Linked DNA regions of Homo sapiens: region 2 is linked to region 1. Evidence: promoter capture Hi-C in 16 types of primary human blood cells and fetal thymus (Javierre and others, 2016). All regions are on one chromosome and are shown on one strand. Each heading gives the region's core, a stretch centred on a gene start or on the middle of the fragment in contact. The rest is flanking DNA. Distances are from core to core; before and after follow the strand shown. Region 1 holds the start of SALL2 (spalt like transcription factor 2). Region 2 overlaps CHD8 (chromodomain helicase DNA binding protein 8).

What was found. Contacts are between HindIII fragments. The CHiCAGO score rates a contact against its expected background, and 5 or more counts as called.
Region 2: a fragment that was not itself captured here is called in contact with the fragment with the promoter of SALL2 in region 1 in 1 of 17 cell types (fetal thymus); the score reaches 5.2 in fetal thymus.

Annotation. Positions count from the first base shown.
Region 1 is chr14:21,522,694-21,529,385 of GRCh38, forward strand. SALL2 (spalt like transcription factor 2) reads right to left here and starts at 3,653. Exons shown (of 2, transcript NM_001364564.1): 1 at 3,368-3,653; 2 at 1-2,961. The coding sequence starts at 3,434. The coding sequence ends at 11. RefSeq lists silencers at 884-1,070, 3,531-3,590 and enhancers at 1,586-2,413, 3,244-4,071, 4,072-4,899. The HindIII fragment of the contact is 14,095 bases long and covers 1-5,972 here.
Region 2 is chr14:21,429,382-21,435,216 of GRCh38, forward strand. CHD8 (chromodomain helicase DNA binding protein 8) reads right to left here. Exons shown (of 38, transcript NM_001170629.2): 2 at 1,420-2,477. The coding sequence starts at 2,262. It also overlaps the pseudogene RN7SL650P. Among named protein-coding and RNA genes, the nearest start is that of CHD8, 24 kb to the right of the region's middle. The HindIII fragment of the contact is 1,326 bases long and covers 3,861-5,186 here.

The DNA.
Region 1 (6,692 bases), core at 2,403-4,902:
AAAAACAGGCTCATGGGATCGTGGGGTCATCTTTTCGGGGAAAGGGGGAGAGCCCTGTGGAGGTGATGGAAGGCGAACAGCCAGGGACTAGAGAAAGAGCAGCAATATTCTGAGGGCCATGGGGGGCAAAGGGCTGTACCTGGTGGTGTGCCAGGAGCATATGCTTCTTGAGGGTAGCCCGCTCAAGAAAGCCCTGCCTGCAGAAAACACAAGTGAAGAGCGGCCCCTCCTTGGGGTGGGTCTTCTGATGCTCCTCCAGAGCTGCCTGGGAGGGAAAGGCCTGGCCACACACTTCGCAGGCCTTTCTGCTGCTGCTCTCTCCTGGCTCCTTTCTCATTGCCTCCTGCAGGCTCAGCTCCTCTACCAAGGTCACGCTGGTGGCTTCCCCTTCTGGGGTGAGTGCTGATGCCGGACTTGAGCTTCTCTCCGGTTTGCCCCCCTCTTCCTTGCCTCCTAAAACACCACTGCTTCCCTGCTCCATTGGCTGAGGCTGATCCAGGCTGTCAGGTGGTGGTGGTGGTGGCAAAGAAGACTGTTGAGTAGTTTTCTCATTACTGTCCATCTCCTTCCCAGCTGTGGCTGCTGCCGCCACTGTCCCCACCTCCTCCTCTGCCCCAGATGCCTCTTCTGAATCACCTCTCACTGATATTGCCTTCTCACCTCCACTCTCTGAGCCTCTCCCTGCCAGGGAATCTTCATCAGTCACATCTTCCTCTTCTTCCTCATCCTCCTCTTCCTCCTCCTCAGACAACTCCTCTTCCGGTGATGGCTGCTGGGACTGCTGCTGGGGGAAACTCCGTGCCCCGGAGACTGTAGATTGCTCGGAGCCATTCTCCTGAGCAGCTCCTCCACCTTCAGGGAGTGCAGTACCACCGTTGGGGATCTGGCCCCCCAGGTGCATCCGGACATGCTGCTGCAGAGTGACAGCATTGGTGAACTTCTTCTGGCAGATGGGGCAGGAATTCTGTGCCCGGGCAGCTGGACTGGCCTTGTGGCCCACGAAATGTGCACGCAGATTACCCCTGGTGGAGAAGGCTCTGCCACACACTTTGCATTTGAAGGGCCTCTCACCTCCATGTTGGCCATAATGAAGGCGTAGGGCCCGAGGACAGCTAAGCACTCGGAGACAGATGACACACTGGTTAGGTCCAGAAGAGGCTGAGGATGAAGGTGCAGGGGCAGAGGTGGTGGGGGCTCCTGAGGCAGCTGAGGTCACCGCCACAGCTCCTTGCCGGTCAATCTTTTCTACCAGTTGCTGCAGCTTTGATGTCTCAGAGGGTGAGGCCCCCAAGGGCTCTAGCACATAGGGGAAGGGGAAGCTGCCAGTGGACTTGAAGTGGTTGGTAAGCAGTGCCCAGCTTGGTAGTGAAGTCACCAACTTACTTAGTTGCATGCGAGTTGCCGTGCTACTTTCTGCCACTCCACTGATGGCTGAGCCCTCACTCCCTGGGGGGGTGTTTTCATCAGCTTTATTCTTGGGTTCCACTGCTTTCATGAGCACAAACTTATTGAAAGCAGGGAGTCCTGGAGCCGTGGCTGTGCCTGCACTGGTGGAGAGCAGAGTCAGGCTCTCTGTGGCACTGAGTGCTGTTGTGGAGGCCACCAGAGGCTTGCGCTCAACCCCTCCACCTGGAGTGGCTGCCTCCTCCTCGGCCTTCTCTGGTGGCACGGACATACCATAAGGCAAGCCACTGCTGGTAATGACATAGTCTAGGTGCTCTGGTACTGGGTGTGGGTTCATCTGCACATGTGGGTACTTCTCACGATGCCGGTGGAAATGCACTTTGAGGTTGCCACGGGTGGTAAAACGGTTTCCACAGACATTGCACTTATAGGGCCTCTCACCCGTGTGGGAACGAAGGTGGATCTGCAGGGCACTGTCACTGCCAAATACTTTGGCACAGAAGCGGCATTTGTGCCTTCCACCAGGCTTCTCCAAGGGACCCATCACTTCTCCGTAGCTCAGCTCACCACTTCCATTCTTTGGCTTCAGGAGCCCTGGGGAGGCAGTGGCCTCAAGGCCTCGGGCTGCCCCAAGACACTGTGCTGCCAGTAGTCCCGTGGTGCTTGGGAATGCCAGATGAGGCGAGGCAATCAGCTGATCTGTGCTGCCTGGCAAGGCTGGGGAAGGGGCAGGGGTGGGTTTGTGGCTTCGCCCAACCCCTCCAGCAGAGAAAGGATGCTGTGACCCCAGTGGGTGGTAAAGGTGGAAGAAGGCCTGCTTGGGCGTTTCTGCCCCTGAAGAGGAAGAGGAGGAGGAGGAGGAAGATGCCAGTGTCTTGCTGGTTTGGACAGGCTTGATGGGGCTGAAGAGGGGTAGTAGGGGCTTGGTGGAAGAGGCAGTCCCTGTCCCAGGTAGCTCTGAGGGACTGGCAGGGGCACCCACCGTCTGGCCTAAGGAGCCAAGCAACAGCACCTGCCTGCAGATTTGCTCAGTCATCTGCATCTGATGGATCTGCCGCTGCTGCAGCACCCGTAGCTCTTCCAAGATCAGGGGGATATTCAAGTGGCCACTGCCTACCCCTGGGGGCGGAGGGGGTGGTGGAGGAGGAGGGGGTGCAGGGGTCGATTCTGGAGGTAATGGGGTTGCTCCCAGCTTGGGACTGGCCAAGATCAGGCCCCCGCCTCCCCCAGCCGCTGTACCTGTGGCAGCGACCAGGAAATGCCCTGAAGACTCCTCTCCTCTCCTCTCTGGGCCCCAGGTGGGATCCGTGGGCACGGAGGACCCAGAATCTGGGGGGTTGCTATGCTCTGTGTCCATGACCTGAGGATTATTGTGACCCTCAGGCCGGGGTTCAGAGGAGGCCGAAGAGTTGTTGGGGTTCTCCTGGCCCCCAATTATCACCATTACAGGAGGGTCAGTAGAACATGCGTTCTGGTGGGCGAGGAATTCAGTTGGGTCAGTGAATTGTGCGCAGCACTTGGCACAGACTTGGGGGTGATCCTCCTCGCTAGCATCACCTGGGGAGAAGACAAGGAGAGAGAGCGTGGGTGGCGCAGTTGGGTTGGGTATACCGAGGCTCTAATTAACAAGGAGGCCAGTAACCGCTAGTTGGGGGTGGGGAGATGAGCTCACCATCAGGGCCATGCAGAAGTCTAGAGCTCAGGCCTGATCCGTGTGGACAGGAGACAACCCGGCATGGGGCAGGGGGGTGGGGAGGGAGGAGGGGAGGGGGGCAAGAGCATGCTACTCCCCTCCTCAGCCACCCTCCCTTCCCCAGGCCACAAGCGAGTTCACGGAATAGGTGTGGGGACAGGGGCCTACGCAGAGAATCATGCATTTTCTCCCACCCACCGAAAGTCTTCGCCGCCCCTGCGCATCCCCCTCCGCCCCCACCCCTGCCCAGCCCGACCGACCCTACCGCACCTCCGAGCTCTGCCGGCTCCCCGCAGGGCACCCCGAGACGAGAGCTCCTCTCGGATTCGTGCGCCATGGTTGTGGGGGAAGTGGAGGGCCAGGTGGGGTGGGAGACAATGGATATTGGGATTGAGGGAGGCGATGGCCGCTGGGTCTGCGGCAGCCTCTGCACCCAGCGGCCCAGACTGCGGAGATGGAGATCGGCAGCGGCGGGGGCAGGGAGCAGCGGCGGAGGGGGAGGGGAGCGAGGAGGCGGGGAGAAGCTGGAGTGAGAAAGCGGGGAGAGGGGAGATCTGGGAGGAGCTGATGAGGAGGGGAGTTTATGGGGAGGAGCTGCTGGGGAGGGAGGCGGGAGCTAGAGGAGGCGGGAGAAGGGAGCGCTAGCGGGGGCGTGGGGGCGGGAGCTCAGAGCTCGGGAGAGTTTCCGGAGGCGCAGTGACAGGTGCTGTGAAGCACTGCGGGGGTCCACCTTTCCCGGTCCCTGGCCAGCTCCCCCCATCTGCAGATGCCTTTGCCCAGGCCTACCCTCCTCCCCCCGCCCTCCCCTCCTAAGCTCTAGGGGCACAGTGGGAAACGTAGCCCTGCTCAGTGGAGCAAGGCGATAGGCTTCTCTTATTTTTCTTTGGATAAAGGATCCGCTGAGCTTGGAAAAAGTGGATTCCAGAGAGGGTCGTCTGATCTCCTCAGAGGTCTGAGGGCCAGAAGAAGAGGGGGAGATCAGAACATCCACTCCTCACCAGCACACACACCCCAAAATATTCGAAGTTTTGTCTCGTCTTTCTCACTTCCATTCCCACCCTACCCCCATCCCTCTCCACAAAAGAAGTTTCTCAGGGTGGGCGGCTGCAAGGTAGAATTTCCCAGGAAGTCATTTCAGGACTCTCTGCGGAACACTAAGCCCCTTCACTCCCCGCCCCTCCTCCCCCTGAATAATAGCTGAATGCAGGTTACTCCGCAGATCGCCCAGCCTACACAACACCTAATTCATAGAGTCCATGCTTATTTAATAAGCCATCTCCTATTTAGTACCCTCTTCCTCCTCTATTCTCCTCTTGCAACATTCCTCACACCGTCACTATTAAAGACAGTGGGTTTGGGGAGACGCTAGCCTGCAGAGGCCTACGGAGGCCCACCCAGCTCTAACCTGGGGGGGAGGGGAGCCCTCTTGAAACAATGCGGTAGGAACTACCAGGCAGCCCTCAGTGTCTAAAGCCCTTTCAGCCCCAGCCTGATTTGAATGCTTAGAAATAGCTAACACCTGCTCACCATCACAGAGGCAGCCTCCTATTCAGACAGGATAAGTAAGAATAAAATGCCTCCTGGACCAGGTATTCTGGCATTCTCTTTTTTACCTTGAAATGAGTCTTAAAGTGCTTCCCACTTCCTAAAATACTTTCTCTTACATGCAGGAAGTGACCACAAGTCCTTGGTTTTGTGGTTTCCCTGGGCATCAGTAAACCTAAATTGTTTTAATCCCAGTTCTATTCTTGCCTCACTGATAAAACTGAGACATGGTGGTCAGTCACACCATGTTATACCACCGTTTCCCTCTTCATAAAGTGGTAATATTGTAGCTGCAGTATTTTACTCAGAAAAATATTGTGGGGACAAAAAATTGAAAAATTGGACAATATTAATGTGTAAACCAGGTATGGTGGTGCACACTTGTAGCCCCAGCTACTTGGGAGGCTGAGGCAGGAGAATTGCTTTAGTCCAGGAGTTTGAGGCTGCAGTGAGCTGTGATCACACCTGTGAATAACCACTGCCCTCCAGCTTCGGCAACATAGTGAGGCCCCATTACTTTAAAAAAAAAAAAAAGCCGGGCGCGGTGGCTCACTGTAATCCCAGCACTTTGGGAGGTGGGCAGATCACGAGGTCAGAAGTTCCAGACCAGCATGGCCAACATGTTGAAACCCCGTCTCTACTAAAAATACAAAAATTAGCTGGGCATGATGGTACACCTTTAATCCCAGCTACTGGGGCAGCTGAGCCAGGAGAATGGCTTGAACCCAGGAGGTGGAGGTTGCAGGGGGCTGAGATCGTGGCATTGCACTCCAGCCTGGGCAACAAGAGTGAAACTGCGTCTCAAAAAAAAAAAAAAGTCTAAAAAAATTAATATGTACATGTGAGATTTTTAAAGTTTGGGGAGTCCTGAATTTAATCAATGAGATAATTTACATTGTCAGTAGCAAAATAATCGAAGTAACCTTAAATACACATATACTAAAATTAGATCTGTTTTCCATGTTGTTTGTTAATCTTATTAATTTCTGAGGTAAGATATTGGCTAATATCAGCAGCATATTTCAAAGGTAGGAAGTCTTTTATTGCAGTGGGTGGGGGAGCTGAAACAACCTATTTAAAATATTAGTAACATCCACTTTACTTCTCAACATAAATTTTGCCTGTGTTTTTAAACTTAAAACAGTTTACTGAATTATGTTTTGAAACTTCAGATAATAAGGCTCTTAGCATTGTGAGTCATAATTCTGAAATGGACGGGTTCTGTGCTTCCAGGCCTGGACTTACAAATGAGGGAGGGGGGTTCTATTTCAGTTTATGGCAAGTCACAGTTTTGTGCAATGTGGTTTATTTTTACAGATAAGGAAACTGAAGCTTGGAGAGGTTAAGTGACTTTTCCAAGTTCACACAGTAATTCAGTGAAGCAAGCATTCAGAATTTTGACTCCTGTCCAATGCTTTCTCAAGCACATCAACTTTGTATGGCTTCCCTAATGCTAGAGAAAGGGCCCTGTGTGGCTTCTACCTGCCATTTGCTCCCTGGCCTTAGTCAGGGAGAGGGAATCAGATGGAGGCTTTCTACTGAGCATTTGTTAATTAGCATTGAACATTTGATATCCAGTTGCTGTTTTGTCAAGTCTTCTGACAAGAAAAGAAATCCTTTTCTTTTCATCTTCTCCTGGGAAACACTGTCCCCTTTCTTGCTCTTTAATGAAATGTGCTTTCTGATGCGTAATTTGATCTAAGCTCTTCTTTAAGGTAAATTTAGTCCCTGGTGAAAGGTGACTGGATCAACAGCCACCTGTAAGAGGAACCCTCCATTTCTCAGTACTTTGCACTCACTGCACATCCTGAAAAGGGGGGCAGGATTCTTACACAAACATGAATGAAGTCACAAATGCAGGAATAAACTAAACTGGTAATGGTGTCCCTAGATAGCAGATAAGGTGAGGTAAGCTATCTCCGGTCAAATGCAAAGTCCGGGGTGGGACTAAGACCTGGACAAGCTTGTTTAAACTTATAGAGAGCTGAAATGACAAAGAAAAGGGAAACCAGGTGGCTTCCCTTCTAAATCTAGTGTCCCATCAGATTGC
Region 2 (5,835 bases), core at 3,274-5,773, 92 kb before region 1:
TATACTCTGAAATATTTACACCAGTTTTCTTCATGCTAGAATCATAAAAACTACAGGTCAGAAGACACAGTACAACTCACTTTGTTCATCATCCTATCTGTCTTGATGCAATCTTTTTTGTTATTTTTAGACAGGGTCTCGCTGTATTGCCCAGGCTAGAGTGCAGTGGCTATTCACAGGCACAACACTACTGCTGATCAGCAAGGGAGTGCTGCCCTGCTCCGTTTCCAACCTGGGCCAATTCATCCCTCCTTAGGCAACCTGGTGGTCCCTTGCTCCTGGGAGGTCACCATATTGATGTCAAACTTAGTGCAGACACCTGATTGGCATAGCACACCACAGCCCAGAACTCCTAGGCTCAAGTGATCCTCCCGCTTCAGCCTCCTGAGTAGCTGGTACTATAGGTGCATGCCACCATGCCCAGCTAATTTTTATTTTGCTTTTTTGTAGAGATGAGGTCTATGTTTCCCAGGCTGGTCTCGAACTCCTGGCCTCAAGCGATCCTCTGGCCTCAGCCTCCCAAAGTGCTGGGACTATCAGCTGTCCTGATAGAATCTTTTCTATAATGCTTCTGCTCAGTAGGTATCAAGCTATGTTTTAAAAACTCCTGATGGAAGGCTATCTTCTAATGCAGCAGTTCATTTTTGGAAACCTAATAATACAAAATTCCTTATATTGAATTGAAATCTGCCTCCTTGTAGCTTCTTCCCACTAGTCCTACTTTTTTTAGAGACAAGGGTCTCACTATGTTGCCCAGGCTGGTCTTGAACTTCTGGCCTCAAGCAATCCTCCTGCCTCAGCCTCCTGAGTAGCTGGGATCACAGGTGAGAGACATTGTGCCTGGCTAGTCCTAATTATCTCAATGCTGCGCCCCCACCCCCACCAACTCTTTTGGCCCTTTATTCAGATGCTAGAGCCTCTACCTTCTTACGCTAGAAACTAACACTTTCACTGAGCAAAGTAGGAGGGGGACAATCTTAGTAATAAGAATAAAAGAAAGATATAAATAGCTTTTACAAGTCTTGCAAATATAAAGATAATTCTTCAAAGATGTTTCTTTGTTCCCATAGCATCCCATACTTCTCATAAAACTTTGTATCACACAATTATTGTGAACTCTTGCTTAATATCTGTCTTTCCTGGCAGACGGTGAGCTCTGTAAGGACAGGGACTGTGTTTGCCTTATTTAGCACCAGCTAGGTACAATGTAAATGTGTAGTAAGAGCTCAAAAAATATGTTAACATTAACTGCTTCCAACCAGCAAGTACTAAGTATGTGGCTGTCACACTAACTGATAAAAACCAAAGATGGAATTTAAATAGGCTTTCCCAGAGAAAGCTCTCATGTGCTCACTCTCTCAAAGAGTTGCTGGGCCCTCTATGAAACCAAAATTCACCTCCCCCTTTCACTCAAGTCACCTGGGTAGGTGTAGAGGTCAGTGTAACTGCAGGCTTCAGTGGGGGCCCTGTGGCCCCAGGGTTTCCAGCAGGAGCTGAACCCTTAACTGGCTGGAGGACCAGCTGCTTTACTGGTCGGCTGGGCTGGACAATGCGCTGAACAGCAGCCTGGTTCCCAGGGACCTTGGCGGCCAACACTGTATTACCAGAGACAATGGAAACACCTGGTCGAAGGGGTGTGCCGGTTAGCACTTTGGTAAAAGTGACTTTTCCACCATTGGCTGTGCCTGCCACCAGGGGCTGAGCTGTGCTGGTGATACCTTGGGCCTGAATTTGTGCCACATGGGCACCAGTGACTGAGGAGCTTGGTGGGGCCTTAAGGATAACAATCTTAGGGGCTGACTGAGGTGGCTGCCCTCCAGCACTACTGGAGGAGACAGCTGTGGCAGAGACACCCATGAAAGGATTCCCTTGGCTCAGGATCTCCTGGCTCTTGGAGACTTGCAAAAGTCCTGATGTTGGCGTCGATGTCTGTAAGACAGGTTGGGCTGGCTGCTCCTGGCTGGCAGGCTGAGTGGTATAATCATGCAAGGTTATGGATTCTGGAGCTGGAGCTGTGGATTCTTTGGAAAGTTCTGTGGGAGCTGTTTCCTCTGGTGGAGGGACCAGTTCACTTGCTGATGAATTCCCCACATCACCACCTCCACCATCCTGGTTCATCTGATCCAAGGAGTCCAGAGAGCTTGGCAGTCCAAGGGCTTCCTCAATGGGGTCTTGTGTGACCTGGTTAAAGCTGTCATCAGTCAGAGAGTCCAGGCCAAATAAATTTGGGTCATCGAACAGATCCATGATGGGGTCTGCCATCTTGGGAAAGTAATGGAGGGTACTTCTCCAAGGTCTAGGGAGGGAAGGGGAGGGGGGGTACTGGCTCTCCCCTCCCCTCCCCTATTAAGAAAAAAATGTACACAATGTAAGAGGACTACTCTTCAAGTATAGAGGCAAGAAACAAGTGCATGTCAGATTGTCCTGACCTTCATGGAGCAAGATGGCTACGTCTTCAGAGGAAGATGGTGGAACTCCTGTTGTAGGAATACAAATACAAATGAAAAATAGGCAAAGTTGGCGATCTCAGAGAAAATTTTCCCTTCTTACGTACTGTTCTTAATATCAAATAGCATGAATATAAGAGGGAAATGTGAGGAAATCTGAGGACGGACATACAGCAGAAAGACACTCATATTTCTGCTTCAAAACTAAAACTAAAAGAGAAAAACAATAACAACCTCCTCTTGGGCACTTACACCTACAAACTTTAAAGACTCTGTCAAGAGCATTTGGCTGTCTTTCTCCGTTTCTTTTAACAATTATTATTCTTTGGTAAAGATAAAATTTAATATTCATTTACCTTCTATTTTCAGTTTTTAAGTTAGTAGAACTCAAAAATATGCCACCAGAATTACAGTGACTCTATAGATAAAGGTTTCTGGATATATTCTATTGTATAAATTTTTCTTGTGTTTTATATATTTTTACTTACTATTGGCAAAAATAACCACCTTTAACCAAGGCTTATAGTACAATCTCACCAAAGTGATCATACAATTTTACCCAGGAAGTTTTGCAACCTTTATTCTAGTTAACATATTAATCTATAATGGGATTTTTGTTCTGAAGTCCCCTCTCAAGAAAACTTTCTCATATTTAAGATAAAAAAGGTCAATTGCAAGGGATTCAACATTGTTTCCAATTTATATTCCCAACTTCCTCTTACCATCTCTTACATATATTTTACATTCCAGTCCAACTAGACTACACAATTCCCTTAATGTGATTCCTACCTGTGTGACTTTGCTTATGATGCTGTGCTTTCTGCCTGGAACACGTCCTCTCCATCCCAATGCCAATAATCTCTCGCAGCTAAAATCCTACCAACCCTCAAAGGTCTTCTACTCCATTAAGTGAGCCCTGAACCTCTGACGCTTTAACAACTGAGCAACTTGTGATGACTTGATCCCTCCACCTCCTTTAAATACCCACACCATTGTTTATACCTTAAAACACTTATATTTAATATTTTATTATAATGACCTAAGTCTGTAATATATCCTCTGAAGGCCCAAATGGTTCCTTTGCGCAAATTGTAAAAAGTTGCCCACTTCTCAAGATGCCTGGAAAACTGCCATACTAAATATATAAAAATTTGTTATGAATGTATGCAATGTACACCCTCCACAACTCTGTACCATGGCCCAGCTCCTCTTTCTCTGGGAGAAAGTTCTTGGATGGTGGGGACTATGTTTTATTTATCTGTGGATCCCCTAAGAACCAGCAGGACATAGCACATATAGTAGCTAATCAAAAAACAGTTAATGAATTATACTTGCTCGCATTATCTGGAGTAAACCATTCGATCCTCACAGAAACTAAATGGTATCCTTTGATTCTAACATGAGATGGTAAAAAGCTTCCTATCTTGAAAACATGTCTTATGAATGGCTGAAAGTAGGTTCACAAAATCCATGTCTAGGGTTTTAAGTTCATGAAACTAGTGGAAAAAAGAAAAGCTATCAAAGACAGGGAAGTATATCACCATAAAACCCAAATATATGAAAAAGAAATATCTGTTCTTTGTATATGATGACAGTATTTGACAATACAGGAAAGTCTTGCTTGGTAAGACCATTTCTCCTAACTTTTGGAAGACACCAGATAAGAAATTTGTCAGAGGCACAGTCCTGACTGAAGGAGACTTTTCCATATAACCCCCATGCTATGTTTTTTCCTTCCCAACCCATCTCACTTATCCTTATAAAACAATATAATATGGGTTAATATATCAGATACTCCAAAACAGACAAAGAGAACAAACACGTGAGTCAAAATTACAAAGTATACATGGTATCTCCAACAATGTTAAACAAGATCGTCCTTGCTTCAGTAATTGCATACTTTTCATATCTCAACCCAAGATCCATACCATCTCCCATTCCTGGCTAGCCTATTCCACCAGCTCATTCCAGCCTCTCATATCTAATATTTGCCTCCAAATTACTCAAAATGGCAATCAGGAAAGTTATGAATGCTTCCTGATTTAACGAAAACCTACTCAATAACTTGATATTAATAAATTTCCTTCCCATTATCATCAGCTTTTTTCCAGTATACCTACTTTGGCACCAATTATTTTTCATTCTCTACTCACCGTCAGAAGTTAAAGTATCTACAGCTAGGAGTAATATAAAAACAACAGTGAAAGTTTCTTTTTTTTTTTTTTTTTTTTTCTGAGACAGAGTTTCACTCTTGTCGCCCAGGCTGGAGTGCAATGGCGCGATCTCGGCTCACCGCAACCTCTACCTCCTGGGTTCAAGCGATTCTCCTGCCTCAGCCTCCCGAATAGCTGGGATTACAGGCCTGCGCCACCACACTCGGCTAATTTTGTATTTTTAGTAGAGACAGGTTTTCGCCACGTTAGTCAGACTGGTCTCGGACTCTCGACTTCAGAGGTGAGCCGTCGCCTCAGCCTCCCAAAGTGCTGGGATTATAGGCATGAGCCACCACGCTGAAAGTTTCTACTAACCAGAAGTTTACGTTGCAAATAGTTTATAGCCTGCTCCTTATTCCATGGAGTATTTTGTCGCTTCCATGATTCCTTGCTATTTGTTAATTCTAATGCTCTTCCTTTCCCCCATAATGATCCAATCTTAGGCCCAGATTTTTTTTTTTTTAAATAGGAGAAACAAGGCTGATGGTTTCTGATGAATCTCCTTACCCCCATATGACTTAGTATAAGCTTTTTAAAGATCAATGCATTGTCATTTATCTCTCCCTTCCCAATTTTCGAACCAAATTTCTGCTTCTTCTAGTTCGGTCTATGCCTAATAATTCAAAAACCTTGCCACCAAGTATCATTACTTCTCAGTCCCATCATTCTCACCTATACTGACCCAATTCATCTCATATTTTTATGCTAGTTTCCTACTTCTTTTCTAGTTCCTATCTTTAAACTGTCCTTGACTCTTACAAGATTAAACCTTCTCCCAACATACATCTAACTTTTTTTAACCCTCCTTCTACTACTACTTGTGGGTCACCCTGGCTATATCCACATACGGCCTATTTATTCTACCAAGCTCATCTATCTCATGAATCCTCTCAACCATCTCATGAATTCTCTTTCCTTGATTCAAACCCTAATAGCAAAAATGAACAGATGTTAAGTTGGTTTCAATGCAAAGTAACTGCCTAGATAAAGAAGTCACACCAACTTTTATCATATTAAGAATGAAAAGCCAGTGTTGGCCCACCAGTCCCCAAAAGAGAAACACATGTATGTGCTCAAAAGGAAAGACAAAACTTAGTGGTTGTACTTAGTCACTTTCCATAATTACAAACTAATGACCAGAATCATGACAGAAATCTTGGAGGGCATGTAGGGGG